Linked DNA regions of Homo sapiens: all the other regions are linked to region 1. The links are contacts of gene promoters, found by promoter capture Hi-C in blood cells and fetal thymus (Javierre and others, 2016). All regions are on one chromosome and are shown on one strand. Each heading gives the region's core, a stretch centred on a gene start or on the middle of the fragment in contact. The rest is flanking DNA. Distances are from core to core; before and after follow the strand shown. Region 1 holds the start of TMEM108-AS1 (TMEM108 antisense RNA 1). Region 2 overlaps TMEM108 (transmembrane protein 108). Region 3 overlaps TMEM108 (transmembrane protein 108).

Region 1 (5,024 bases), core at 1,109-3,608:
ATTATGCTCATGGAGTCTGTGGGTCAGTGACTTAGGATATAGGAAGAATGATTTGTCTCTGTTCCATGTTGTCTGGGTCCTCAGCTAGATGGCCTGAAGGCTGAAGTGACTTGACAGCTGACTGCTGCAATACTCTGAAGTCTCATTCATTCATATTTCTGGTGGTTCATGCTGGCTGTGAATGGGACCTTAGTTGGAGTTATCAACCACACACCCAAATGTGGCCTCTCCATGTGGCCTTGACTTCTTCACAGTATGTTAATTGGTTCCCAGGGTGTGTGCAGAGAGAACCAGATAGAAGTCATATAATCCTTTCTAACCTACCTTCAGAGTCATGCAGCATCACTTCCACAATATTTTACTCATTAAGGAGATTACATGGCCTAGCCAGGCTTGAGGGAAGGGAAAATGTATTTCATTTCTTGATGAGGATTGGCAAGGTTCTGAGAAGGCATTTGGAGCCAGAGTATTGTTGCATCCATTTTAGAGACAGTCTGTTACACTATATAAAAATACTGAAACAAAAGATGGAAATAGGGGAGGAAGATTATGAGACGATAGACTACTCAACTTGAAAAAAGACCCAGCTACAACTTACAAAATTAAAAACATGTAATTATTGGAATTTAAAATTCAGTGGATGGCTTAACTAGCAGATTAAACATCTTCTTTAAAAATATCAATGTACTAAAACAGAGCTTAAGAAATTACTTGGAATATACTATGGAGAAATAAGAAAGTAAAAAAATGAGAAAGGGTAATTGAGACACAGAAGCTAGTATGAGAAGGCCTAACATAAGTACAGGTGGGGGTTCAAGAACGAGAGAATAGAGACAATGGGGGAGACGTATTTGAAAACATAATGGCTTAGAATATTTTCTAGAATGTATGAAAGATATGCATACTCAGATTCTGGGAATACTGTGAGTCTCAAAAATAATAAGGGCTGGGCGTGGTGGCTCACGCCTGTAATCCAAGCTCTTTGGGTGGCCGAGGTGGATAGATCACCTGAGGTCAGCAGTTCAAGACCAACCTGGCCAACATGGTAAAACCCCATCTCTACTAAAAATATAAAAATTAGACAGGCATGGTGGTGCACGCCTGTCATCCCAGCTACTCAAGAGGCTGAGGCAGGAGAATTGCTTGAACCTAGAAGGCGGAGCTTGCAGTGAGCCGAGATCATGCCACTGCACTCCAGCCTCTGCACTGGCTGACAGAGTGAGTCTCCTTCTCAAAAATAAATAAATAAATAAACAACAAGAACTGCATGCATGCCTGGTTATAAAAACAGCAAATAAAGAGATAATCCTAAAAGCAGCCAGAGGAAAATGTTCCTTATAAAGGAATAATATTTAAACTGATGGTTGACTTCTCAACAGCCACCACAGAATCAAGGAGACAGTGAAATAATATCTTTAAAATGCTGATAGAAAACAACCAGCAACTTGGAATTAAAGATCTGATCAAATAATCATTAAAGCACGAGGGTAAAATAAAGACATTTTCAGATATTTTTTAAAGTAGAACATTTTCACAGATGGACATTCATTTACAGAACTTCTAAAAGATATGCCTCAGGAAAAAGAACATTTCTTCTGAGAAACAAGGTCTTAAATATAAGAAGGAATAGCCAGCAAAGAAATTGGCAAACATAGTAGTCAACCCAAGCAAACATTTTCTGTATGAAACATATAATAATGTCTAATATGTGGGGTTAATGAAAAACAACACAGAATAAATATACTAGACAATAATAGCAGTTAAGTTGGGAGGGGATGAAGAGAATCAAAGTCTTATAAATTCCTTGTATTGTTAGGATGGAAAATATATCAATTAACTTAGGCATAGTCAAGTTTTAGTAGGCATGGCAAAATTTCAAGGAAACTACTAAAAGACATAGAATTCATAACTTCCAAACCAGTAAAACAGAACTATTAGAATAAGAAAGAAAAAACTCAGTCCAAAGGAAGGCAATCAAGAAGGGGAAAATAGATATAGAGAAATCTGGATAAGTAGGACAAGGCAGAAATAAATCCAAATGTCAGTAAGCACAGTAAATGTAAATGGACCAAACTAGCCAGTTAAGTGCTCCACAATTCACTTCATGAAATTACTATAACCTTAATGCAAAAGCCAGAAAATGATAGTATGAGAAAGTAAAATTACTGAGTCAGTCTTACCCGTGAACATAGTTCTAAAGTCATGGCTTGGTGAGAGGGATGACAATCATGAAACTGAAAGGGAAACAGTGCCTGTACTTACCATCCCTGATGTCAAAATGCCTGCAAGGACACTGCCTTCCTTTAGTTTATTTCTTGGGTAGAGACGACAGGAGGTCTTTATTGATATTATCTCATTTGAGATTGTCTCTTAATATTCATAACCTAAGGCTGCTATACAGTGCCTGTGTTATATAACAGCACCTCTTTTACAACTCAGGATGTCACAGTATTATGAGTAATGAGGTGCTTGTGGGAGTTATTGAAGGATTAACTATAGACTTGTAACCAATCCAAGAATTGCAGGAGATGAGGCACCCTCGTAAAGAATTTATCAAAGTAATTTGTCTATGTTGCTGTGGACAGATTACATTCTTATTCACTCTCTGAAAGTTTATTGCCAGTCTCTGAGTAGTTACAAATGCATTATTAATAATCCTTAGAAAAGCAATACATTGTTGCATGGCTTAAGCTTTGCTCGTGTCTAGAAATTTGGAACAGTTGAACCTGACTTCATTTCACTGCCTCTTAAAACTTGATCCCCCTGAAACAAAACCTAAAGAAGTATTGTGTTTCTCCCTCTAAATTCAGTGAATCTACTTGTCATTTATTCAGTGGTATTTGAAAGCTTAAGTTGGCAAATTAGACTAATATTAAAAACTTAGATATGCCTCTCTTCCTTCCCCATCTTTGAGAGCTGTTACTGAGTAAAGGAGCAAATGAAAAGGGATGAAACTCTCTGGTAGTTAAGTAGTGTATCTAAACTAAGTGGAGTAGATACTGCCTAGTTGTAAACTTCAGCCAGTTGTCTGTTGAGAAAGACAGGTGCAGGGGCTTTTCTTTTTTATTTTTCATGCAACAACTTACTTAGTGTATAACACTGAGCTATCCCTGTTTGGAAGAAGCCAGAGGCCCAGAAAATTTTTGCTAAAGGAGGGGTTGCTTTATGTATCTCCTTTAAAGGGAGATGGGTAGGACAGGATTCAGATGCTCCTGAGTCCCATAGTGAAAATACCATTTATAACCTGCTGTAGACTGTATGTTTATGATCCCCCCAAATTCATATGTTGAAACCTGAAGCCCAATGTGATGGTATTTGGAGGTGGGGCCTTTGGGAGGTGATTAGGTCATGAGGGTGGATCCCTCGTGAATGGGATTAATGCCCTTATAAAAGAGACCTTAAGGAGCTTTCTCACCCCTTCCTCCGTTTGAAGACATGGTGAGAAGGTATGGTCTATGAACCAGCCAGCGGGCCCTCACCAGAAACTGAGTCTGCTGGCACCTTGATCTTGGGCTTCTCAGCTTCCAAAACTATGAGAAGTAAATTGCTGTTGTTTGGTATTTTATTATAGCAGCCCTAACAGACTAAGATCCTCACCATAGTTTCCATCAAGCTACAAGAAGGGCATGTTGTGAAGGCAGGAAAGCATACCATGTGGTGGGCCCAGGCTGAAAGGAGCCAGCTGCCCACACCACCTCGCTTTTGATAAAGTTGGATGGAGGGGGGTGATGGAAGTCCAAAGGAATTCCTTAGGTGTTTGTGTCTCACATCCTTATCTCTGAGGCAGCTGCTGCCAGCTCATCTCCCTGTCCCTGCAGCTCAGAGGGCAGAGAGGTGCATTCCCTAGAACCAGTCAGCATTCAGAGCTGTTTGGCATCACCACTGCCTCATACTGCTATTCTTCATCCTCTTCAGACTGTATCCACTCTGACTCAGTGGTCATCCCCAAAACTTTGCATGAAGCAAAAGGAACTCTTCATTCAGACAGAGAGAGAGTTGGAGAGGGAACCAGGTGAGCATACCTCATGGCCTGAAGAACGTTATCCAAGAGAAAAAGTTTATTCTTAGAATTGTTATGTAGGCAACAATTCACTGATCTCTGCCTCCAAGTGGCTTAAAATTCACTGACAAGATATAGAAAAGTGAAATGTAAGATTGAGAGAATGATTTGAAAATAATTGCTTTTGTTTTAGTATTTGCAGGCCCATATGCAATAATCCTTTCATTTTTCCCTTGGTTTATCCTTCAGTCTCAGACTGTCCTGATGGGTAGCTTTTTAAATATAGGGTAGCAAGTCCACTAACATTTCTCCCAGTTACCAAGGAGACCTTATTGGCCTTAATACATTACCACCACTAAGTCAGAAGTCTTACATAATTAAGTGTTGTCATCTGTTTCACTTCGTACTTTAATAAACCTGGACTGATTCTTTCATTTTGCTTCTAATGCTTGCTTCTCTAGCCTGTGGTGAGATGTCATTCTTTCCTTTATAAGAATTGTGTTTTGATGACCGAAGAAGGGTTTTTGGTGTTGTGAAATTCTTCTGGAGTTCTGGAATTATCTCTTTCCTATGAATGCTTGAGGAACCACTAGAGGAAGCCATTGAGAAGTGGGCAAGACCACAGGTTCTGGACTAGCCTCCCTCCTTGGCTCAGATGTGGAGTACCTACAAAGTGCATGCCCCACTGCTTTCGCATATTTACGTAAGAGGTAGGTGGTGTTATCCCCATTATACAGTTGAGGAAACTGAGACTCAATAAGGTTAAATAATACTCAGGGTTAAATTGGCTGCAAATAAATAATTGAATTAAGATTTTAATTCCTGGCCTCTGACTGCAAGCCCGGTGTTCTTTCAGCTATTTGATATTGGCAGTTAGGAGAAATAATGGGTTCAAGGAAATAGAATTTTTCAATAGGAGGACAAGAGTACCTTTGGGTCCCGATACAGGGCCCAGTGGCCACTAGTGATGATATCTTACCACAGAGGCAAGGAAAGTTTACTAATACCTGGAGTATGGGTGTGA
Region 2 (5,024 bases), core at 1,178-3,677, 190 kb before region 1:
CCATAAGAATTTGTGCTAAGAGGAATCTCTGGAAACATTCTAACCCAGGACACAAACTGCCTTTGAAATCTGAAGTAAATCTCATATAAAATGTATTTACACATAATTAAATTTGTTTTAGTCTAAAATCTGGTGATGTTACTTAATGTCAGTTCATTTCCACAAAGATTTATCAAGCTTCTGTGGATTCAAGTGAGAATGGAAGGAGAAGGTTTGGAGACAACACTTCTGAGGACTTTTGCCAATCACCTAAGCAATGTGAGGTTCCATATTGTGGCTTTCGAGTGAGATCATTCAAAGGTGTTATGTGTTTTTCTCCCTCTGGGCCTTCATGTGTATGAGTGGAGTGTTGAAGTGAACGAGGCCATGTTTTTGCCGAGTGAGCAGGTCCACACTAGAGTGGGGATAGAGTTCAGCATGTATGGAAGGGAGTGGTTATGACAATTGACTGTGGAATTTAAATTGGCTAAGGAGGTGAATTTGGACATGAGGAGGGTGAGGGACAGTGAAAAGCTGTAGTATCCAATGGGTTGGAGGTCTCCCTGGGGTCAGAGACTTGCTGAAGTTGTGGTATCAGAGATGGGAAACTGACAGGAGATGTTGGTGGTGGGAGAGCAACATGGAGGAATTTCAGCTAAGAAGTGGTGTGTGACCTTGGAGTTAGGGCAGAGAACAGGGACTGAAAAGCCAGGGTATTGGAATGATCATCTCTGTGGCTACTGAATTCACTTAGAGTCATGGCCACAGGAGTGATGAAGAGTGACAGGGAACCAGGAACCCAGATCTTCCCAGAATGAGGGAGAGTGGGCAATATAGTCTGATTTTGTGTGAATCAAAGGTCAGGATTTTACAGAAGAAAGGAGGGACAGTGGTATAGATGTGATAAAGATAACCCACTCTACCTCTAAGCCTTGAAGTTCAGGGAATGTGGGGAGAAAATAGTCACCACATAGGGGGGCTAGAGGTGGAGTGAGCAGTGGGATCTTGCTAATGACTATAAGTTCCAGACAGCACAGGGAAAGGGTTTCAAGCATTGGGAATGGTGGGTGATAGGGTCAGGAAGAGGAATGGAAAGAGCCATATGGTGGTAAAAGTGTAAGGTTGAGAAATGACTTGTGAGTCCTTGAGGGCTTCTCCTTGTATTCTTAACAGGGATAAAAGATATGATTAAGTTAGTCCTGATATTCCCAAGGCTATTGATTTATAGACTGGAATGGGAGAAAGGACAGCACCCAGGGTTTTGGGTCTCCCGCTGGACTCCTGCTTGAGGGGGTGGTCTTATACAGAGCACATAGGGCCCCCATTTAACCCCAGCCAGAGGAGGGGCTGCCTTGAGACCAAGCATTCATTACCCCTGTCCAGGGAAGTATAATGAACAGTAGAGGTCATGGAACATTCTCATGTTTTATTCAACTTTGTGGATCACTTCACGTATTTCACCACATAGACAGCATTCCCTTGTGCCATATTTCTGATTACTTTGTGCCCAGTGAGGATCCTTCATTCATTTATTGCTTCTTTCCTTCCCAGTTACTTGTGTTTCTTTTGTCTGGACAGAAGAAAGCGGTAATGTCTGCCAGTCTGAGGACAGAGCGTGTGTGATGGTGCCCTGTAAGACTCTATTGAATTGAGATACTGTCTGCAGGAAGGCCATTTAGTCTAAAACCAGTTATCACTTCTCCTGAGCTAAAAAGCATTCAGTTCTATCTTCTGGTCACTCCAGAAGAGATTCCATAGTACAAGCCAAAAGAAATTAAATACATGAAGTGACCTTTAATCTATATTAGGGAAATTAATATACGTTTAACTCTTTGGAAGCACTAGATTTGAAATTCAAAATGAACTCCTTAATAAATCCTTACTGTCTCCTTGTGGACAGATGCGTGGGTCTTTAATATCTTTATTCTTTATGTCACAGTCTGTTGAGCCCTAAACATATTTGTATAAATAAAGAGATTCAGGAAAGATTTGCCAAAAGGACTTAATTTTATTTCTAATTCCCCTTTCTGGAATCCTGCTTCCTTTACAAGGATATTGTACAGAAATGTGATTTTATGAAATACTTGAATTGTTTTAATACTTCACTTTTAAAGTTCCACTTTGTATGTAAGAGGACTTCTCAGATTTGAGTCACAATTTTCAAAACATAGTGAAGGACCAAATGGGAATATAAAGGTTGGTTAGAGAAATAAACCTTTTTTTTTTTTTTAATGGACAGTTAAGCACGTGATAGAGGTTCCAAAGGTAGATTGAAGTAGGGGAAGATAATGCTGATGAAATAATGGTTTCACTGGTGTCCCTTCATTCTTTACAAATAAATCTATCCTAGAGATCACTTATGCAGTATGTAAATAATAAACACAGCCAAAGTTGGTTTACTGGTCTTTTTTCCAACCAGAACTTTACACTGATACTTCCTCTCCTCTGTGATAGAGTCATGATCATCAGTCCTTTGGAAGATCTGGAAAGTCCTGAGATAGCAGGGTGAAATCAGACCCCTTCCAGCCTGTAAACTTTTACAAGGCACAACCAGGCCTTTTATGTCTTACATGGTGAAGTTGGGGAAACTATCTCACCATTTGGGAAGGCATAGATGCTAAAGTCACAATGATGTGATCCTCGAACATAGAGCTATTCAATGTGTATTTGTTGGATGGATTAAATTGTCACTGCATTTTTTTTAGCACTATGTATTCTTTTTTAATTCTGTGGACTCCAAAAGTGTGGTTGTGTGTAAGGATATGTACAAATAAACACTTACATAGGTAGCCACACACACACACACACACGCACATGCACACACACATGCACAGAGATGTTCGCATATGCAGAGAGACACCTGACTGTTGGTTCACACAGTTTTCCATTACAGAAGAATGCCTTTCCCAGCTATGGTAAATAAGTGCGGTTAGTCTGATCTCTCCACCTCTGACCTAGTTTTGATATTTTGTAGCTCTAGTTAGTATAAAAGAAACCCAATTTTTTTTTCATGTTCCAGAAACAGGTTCTTTCTTCCTAAAAATAAATGAAAGGACCTTGACATAAGGTGCATATTTTCTAATTAAGAACATCTATGCTGCATTTAATTAATAGCTTCTCAACCTTATTTCCAACAAGTTGTTTTATTCATAACTGGGCCAATTCTTATTAAATTTAAAAAAAATTTATGTCCATATGGCATTCTAGTGGTATGCGCATTTGTACATAGCATTCTAGGAATGAAAATATCATTTTAAAATGGAAATTACAATACCAGTATGTGCCTATTTCTACATAGTTCAGCCATTTTCAAGGCTTAAAATGGGTGGGACCGCACATCTGAATTTTTCAGTATAATCGTTGGGTTATTAATGCATGGCAATTTTAGTTCCGTGAACAAGGAAATACACTGTGCTGGAGTTTCTTCTTTGATGGGTAAATATACTCTCTAAGTTAAGTGTAAGGATTCAGAGCAACCACAATAGCTACATAAGGCTACTCTCTTTTGCTTCATTAGTGTGGTTTTTTGAGGATTTTATTGTCATAATTCTTCACATGTACTTATATTCCAATTACTTTACTATATTTGGTGGCCCAAACGTGACATTCCTTATTAGATTCCCATTGGTCTAAGTAATTCCCATTACTTAGACTCGTCTTTTCTCTATAGTAAAGACTTTCTTGGAGCTTGGAATTTAATTGGTGTTATGCTGGGATAACTACCAAGTTCATTCCCATTGCCATCTGGTATGAGCCTCTTTAGTGTTGTGTGTGCCTGGTTGCACAGTGATCTCTTCAGTCTGTTTTGTATTACTATATTGTTATTTATAATGTACATCTCATTTATTTTATACCTTGTTCTAGAAAGGATTTAGGATGGTTTACAAAGATTCATAAAAAATAATAACTTAAAATTTAAGAGTGTAAGCAATAGAAGAAATAAGAAAAAAAAGCAAGATAATAAGAATAGAACTTGAAAAGGTCTGAGAAAATTGCTGGCTTTTAGGGCCGATATTCATGCTTTTGCATGGACACATATATGAAGCGTTGGGCATCCTAGAAACCATTTAAAAAGGACCTCTATTCCATTACGTGATATCCTTAGTATAGGAGCAAACCATTTACCTTCCTTCTTCTATAGTTTACTCAGTGTTTGTTAATCTTTAAAAAGTTAATTTATTATACATAGAAGAGCAGTTATAATGTATATATTATTTATGAAGAATAAAGTGCATACCCTCTGCCTAGCTTAAAAATAAAACATAACCACTGCCTTTGAAGCCCCCAATGTGCTCTTTACCAATTGCATTCCCTCCCTCTCTCCCCTACTAGAGGTAATTAGTACACTAAAATTTGCAGTTATTCTTTACTTTTGTTATATTTTAACATCTCTTTACAAATGAGTGAAAATGAAACAATAATGTGCATGTTTTTTTCTGTGATCTTTGCTTCTTGTGCTCAGCACTGAGATTCACCCATGTTGAAATTTGTACCTATAGTTCATTCATTTTCACTTGGGTAAACATGTACTACTTATCCATTTCCTTATGAACAACAAACAATGCTATCAATATTCTTATTTGTGTCTCCTGGTATGACTCCCTTTTGTATGTCTTACATAGGCATATATGTGTGAGACTTTCTCTAGGTTTTAGAATTACCAATTTGTTGTGTCATGGGGATAATCAGCTGTGCATATTAAGCTTTACTAGATAATGTCAAATTATTTTCCAAAGAGATTTCTGCTCCCACTAGTGTAAGAGGAGCTCGTGTGCTTCACAGCCTTATGATACTTGGCATTGTGTGGCTTTTTGATATTTGCCCATCTGGTAGGTATTTGATGCATTCTTTATAAAGGTATTGCTAGGCCAGAAGCCTGGCACCAGAGATGAGTTATATATATCCTGCTCATCTTACTCACCAGACCTTCCTTCACAACTTCTCTCTTGTCCCTGAAGTTTTCCTTCATAGCATCCATCTAAAGCTTGACTACATCTCACCTGCTTTAGCTCTCTGAATTATGAATGTTCATCTGCTACTACTTG
Region 3 (5,024 bases), core at 1,707-4,206, 180 kb before region 1:
ATTTAAGTAGTTAATCAACTCAAGAATAAATACAACTTAGCAGGAAGTAATTAAAAAATTGAGATGTTTAACTGGAGGAGTTTTAAGCTTTGAAGTTATCTATTCAGTCAGAATAGTTGCACAAAATACCAAATTATTCATTTACTAAATATGAAATGTTTTTTTCTTTCTCTTTCCCTCTCTGATGCACACACACATATATTTTATCATAGTTGGATCTTGTAGGAAAAAGACTTTGAAGGGACTGATCATTTTCAAATCATTTATCCAGCGAATAGATATTGACATATTATTTTGCATGTTATTCTCTGCTCAAAACTGTAAGGGTGTTAAGATGCTTAAAACATGATTGCTGCCTTTCAGAAACTTTCAGCCATTAAATTGAGAAGAGAAGACAAACTTGCAAAATATAATAATAGTTATATAAATATTGAATTCAGCGAGAAGTGCCGGTGGTATATAATTAGGTTCTAGAAGAATGGATCAGATAGCTGTGACTTACGAAGGGGAAGACATAATTGCTGACTGCATTTTACTAAACCATTTATTTCCTCCTGGATTTGTTCCCTGTGTGTAAAGAGGGGCCTTCAACCCTGGTCAGGTGAGATGGAATATGCAATGCATATACATTTATCTGGAACTTTGTCCAGAGAATGGGTCTTTCAAAAAACAGAGTTACATAAATCCTCTCAGTGATTCTTTGGGGATTGTTGAGATGTTCGTCATTATCTTTATTTTGCAGGTGCCTTAGTCCGTTTGGGTTGCTATACCAGAATAATATAGACTAGGTGGCTTGTAAACAACAGAAATGGATTTCTTACAGTTGTGTAGGCTGGAAGTCCAAGATCAAGGTGGCAAGCTGATTCAATATCTGATGAGGGTCCGCTTCTGGTTTACAGGTAGCCATCTACTTTCTTTGTCCTCACGTGGCAGAAAGGAGCAAAGGTCCTCTCTGGAGTCCCTCTTACAAGGGCACTCATCCCATTCTTGAGAGTTCATGATCTAATCATGTCTGAAAGGCCCTATGTCCAGGTACCATCACATTAGGATTAGGTTCAGCATGTGAATTTTGGGAGGACACAAACATTCTGTTTATGGCAGCAGGTAAGGAACTGCAGGTCAGAAGGGCCCCAGCAAAGTATCATTCTGAAATGAATGACAGATGGGACAGGCACGAAGCTTGAAAGCGAGGAATAAGGGTGTGTCTTGCTTGACTGTGACCGTCTTGCTTACCTGCTGAGGCAGAGGTGCTAGGTATGCCTTCTCTTCAAGGCAGGGCCTCATCATGTAAAGGAGCTTCTGGGTGGAGGCTGAGTGCTTTCTCTATATAGCCAGAGGCCTCACTCCAATGCTTGGGGTGTGAGATCTAAGTTTTGCACAGATGTCTTCTTGCTACAGGCCAAGGCCACAATTAGGGGGAATGGACTCTTTCCACATACTTACTTGTCATCTCGTCCAAGGTAGATGCTTGATAAAATAGTGCTGTATGCTAAAGTGAGCTGCCTAAGCTTCCCTACACATGAAAAAGAAGCCTAGAGGAGAGCACAGATGGGGGACCGTTCAACTGCATTCCCAAGAGCATTATCCCTAACAGGGATAATGGCAGGATGTCCACTGTCTGCGGCCCCTTCTTTTGCCATTCTTTTACATTCATTGCTGTAGAGGGTATAAATAGGAATAAGGAACTGATGGCTATGTGAAGGTGAATTTCAAACTCTTTGAGTTGTGATTAACTTCCAGAGGCCTCAAAATAACTGATTTACATAAAGTATGATGCAGAAACTAAGCCACTCATTTACATCTTCACCATATTTTTTGCATGTAAGGACATATGTTGGTTACCTTTGGTCTTGACAATAACTTCAAGGAAGGAATGCTTTGTCTAATCCTTGTTCCTTCTTCAAGGCCCAACTCAAACACTTTCTCCCCTGGAATCCTTCCCAGAGCTCTTTAGTCAGAATTAATGATCCTATATACCTTTCCATAGCTCTTTGTTCATATCTCTTCACATATTTGGTTATTCACATGTGTGTTCATTTCCTTCATTCAACTCATATATTGTTTTTTTTTACACTCAGAAGCTGAAATTAGTAGACACTTAGTGCTACATGCTGATTGTAAAGTGTATATCTAGAGGAAAGCCAGTACAGTTCAATGTACCCAGTGTGAAGTACTTTCATCCTAGTACTTAATATTTGGATATTTTCTCCATTTTTTTTAAATACTAGGACTTGCGTGAATGAAAGCTTAGTCTCTAGATAGACACAAGTAGGGTCTCTTCACATGAAAAAGGAACTCATCCTCTTCCCCTTTAGCTCCTTAAAGCTTCTCCTCTGGGTGGCAGAGTCGTTTGATGAAAGGAACATGAACTTTAAGCTGACCAGATGGGTGATCTTGGGTAAGTTATTCTTATCTTTCCACATAACAACTTCTCGGATATAAAATGTGGATAATTACAGTTTCCTTGAACAGTTCCATAGCACAGTGTCGTCACTTCTCATGCCTTCATCCATACCTTCATCATTTCTCATCTGGACGTTTCACTGGAAGATGACTGTCCTAGCTCAGGCTGCCATCACAAAATACCATAGACTGGGCGGTTTGACAAGAGAAATTTGTTTTCTCACAGTTCTGAATGCGGGAAATTTGAGATCAGGGTACCAGTATGGTCAGAATATGGTGAGGGTTTTCTTCCCAGTTTGCAGATGGCCACCTCCTTGACGTGTTCTCACACGGCAGAAAGGGAAAGAATAAGCACTCTGGTATCTCTTCTTATAAAGGCACTAATCTCATCATAGGGGCCTCACCCTCATGACCTCATCTAAATCTAATTACCTCCCAAAGACTCCATCTACAAATACTATCACATTAGGGCTTCAACATATGAATTTGGGGGGAACGCAATTCAGTTCACAGCAATGATTGTGCCATTCCTTCAATCCATTCTTGCTATATGGAATATAGATCTGTCACATTTCCCTGCAGGCCAGAATAAAATTCACATTTCTTTGCATAACACTTGTAACTCTGACTCTTATTTAATGCTTCAGCATTGTATCTCTCTGCCTTCATGTTGGTTGGTTCTTCCAGGAAGCAGACACCAACATGGGATTAGAAATGCAAAAGATCTATTGGGGAAAGATAATAGGGAAAGGGAAAAAGAGTAGGTAGGGAAACTTTAGACTGCAATACCAAGTGAGACACATGAAAAAGAAAGGAATCAAGTACAATCAGATAGGAAGAGCATTGTACTGCAATGTAACTCTGAGCAACAAGGAACTTTTGTGCAAAGATCATCTATAGAGGAGTCCCCATTGGTTGGGAGTGGCAAGCCTTGCTTGGTTATTGGCTGGAGCTACCTTAGTAGAGCATGACCTCAGCTTCAAAGCCGTGGCAGATCCTAAAGACACCCACAGCTAGGAGCTGTCAGCTAACTCTACTCCTTGTGGCAGATTTTGTCTTGAAAATAAATCTGAGCAGCATACTTTATGACCTCTGCAGTCTGCTTTGTGCTCTCTCCTTTGCCATGCCAAGTTACTTCAACAGCCATTCTACAGATATTTGAGTGCCTGCTTTGTGCCCATAACCAAGCTTGCTGAGCAAAACCAGGCTTCTCTGGAGTTTACAGTCTACTGGGGGAAATAAATGCTAATCAGATATTCACAATGATGGTGCATAACTGCCAGCGGCACTGAATGCTCTGCAGGAAAGGAAGTCCATCTTACAGGAGTGGGTGGCAAAGGAACCTGAATTCCTTGAACTCACCCCAGTTTCTTGACTCTCTGTCGTTGTATGCGTTGTTACTTCTGCCATAACGTCCTTTCCCTGCTTCTTTGCTTAGCCAACATCATTCAATAATAACAACCATGAGCACATATTGAGGGTAGCCAAATGTCCTGATTTGACTTGGACGCTTCTGGTTGACTCCTTTTGTCATAGTGTATTAATTAGTATTGCCCTCTTTCCTGTTAAAAATATCCCAGTTTAGACAGTATATTATATGGTCACTTGTTTGCCAAGCGCTATTTTAACCTTTTTATTTATTATTATTATTGTTGTTTTGAGACAGGGTCTCACCCTGTCTGCCAGGCTGGAGTACAGTGGTGTAATCATAGCTCACTGCAGCCTCAACCTCCTGGACTTAAGGGATCCTTTGGCCTCAGCTTCCCAAGTAGCTAGGACTACAGGCAGGCACCACTGTGCTTGGCTAATTTTTAAAATTGTTTTATAGAAACAAGGTCTCCCTCTATCGTCCAGGCTGGTCTTGAACTCCTGGGTTCAAGCAATCCTCTTACCTCGGCCTCCAAAAGTGCTGGGATTACAGGCGTGAGCCACCATACTTGGCCTGTAAACTTTTTGTACAAAATACTCATTTAATGCCCACTATACGTCTAAAACAGTAACTTTTTCAAAAAGTTGCAATTTTACAGTACAAGAAGTTAAACAACCCACTAAAAGTCACTGAGCCAGTGGTGCTGGGATTTGAGCCCAGCAAGTCTGTTCCTGAGCCTGTGCTTTCAACTACCAAGCTGTTTCGCCTCTCAAGAGACATTACTTGGAAAGCCCCCCCCCACCCCCCGCCGCCCCACTCCTCAGCCTGGCTTGACTGTTTCCCATGTGATCCATCTGTATCCTGTACATGCCTCTGTTACAGCACATTGTGATGGCACTGGAAACTGTCCCTCACTCCTCATCCCCCTCCCAGCACCTCACACATACTGAGTGCTCAGTCAATCTGTTGAATAAATGGATTGAGACAGATGAGAGAGTTGCCCATACATGGCACATGGACTGTTAAGCTGGAACAGGACGTTGGGTAAGTTGTTTTCTCCTTTTTAGATGTTTTTGCCCTTGTCCAACCTTCAGAAGTTTACTTCCTCTCTGGTTTAATACTGTTCTTAGACATACTGAATTATAAGGACTGTGGACTGAAAAGGGGCAGCTTTGAAAGAAGTGTATCTCATATAGTTCTTTGTTGTGTCTAATTCATTTTGTGGTGTCACATTCATTGGGCAATTTATATT

Evidence for each region. The method cuts DNA at HindIII sites, captures the fragments that hold promoters and counts their contacts. A CHiCAGO score of 5 or more calls a contact.
Region 2: a fragment that was not itself captured here is called in contact with the fragment with the promoter of TMEM108-AS1 in region 1 in 1 of 17 cell types (megakaryocytes); the score reaches 6.6 in megakaryocytes.
Region 3: a contact is called between a fragment that was not itself captured here and the fragment with the promoter of TMEM108-AS1 in region 1, in 1 of 17 cell types (megakaryocytes). The highest score is 6.6, in megakaryocytes.

The regions. Positions count from the first base shown.
Region 1 is chr3:133,254,763-133,259,786 of GRCh38, forward strand. It overlaps TMEM108-AS1 (TMEM108 antisense RNA 1), which reads right to left and starts at 2,359. Exons shown (of 3, transcript NR_110812.1): 1 at 2,263-2,359. The region is part of intron 3 of TMEM108 (transmembrane protein 108); the gene reads left to right. The HindIII fragment of the contact is 5,600 bases long and covers 1-2,689 here.
Region 2 is chr3:133,062,515-133,067,538 of GRCh38, forward strand. The region is part of intron 2 of TMEM108 (transmembrane protein 108); the gene reads left to right. Among named protein-coding and RNA genes, the nearest start is that of TMEM108, 27 kb to the left of the region's middle. The HindIII fragment of the contact is 4,505 bases long and covers 176-4,680 here.
Region 3 is chr3:133,078,608-133,083,631 of GRCh38, forward strand. The region is part of intron 2 of TMEM108 (transmembrane protein 108); the gene reads left to right. Among named protein-coding and RNA genes, the nearest start is that of TMEM108, 43 kb to the left of the region's middle. The HindIII fragment of the contact is 1,266 bases long and covers 2,324-3,589 here.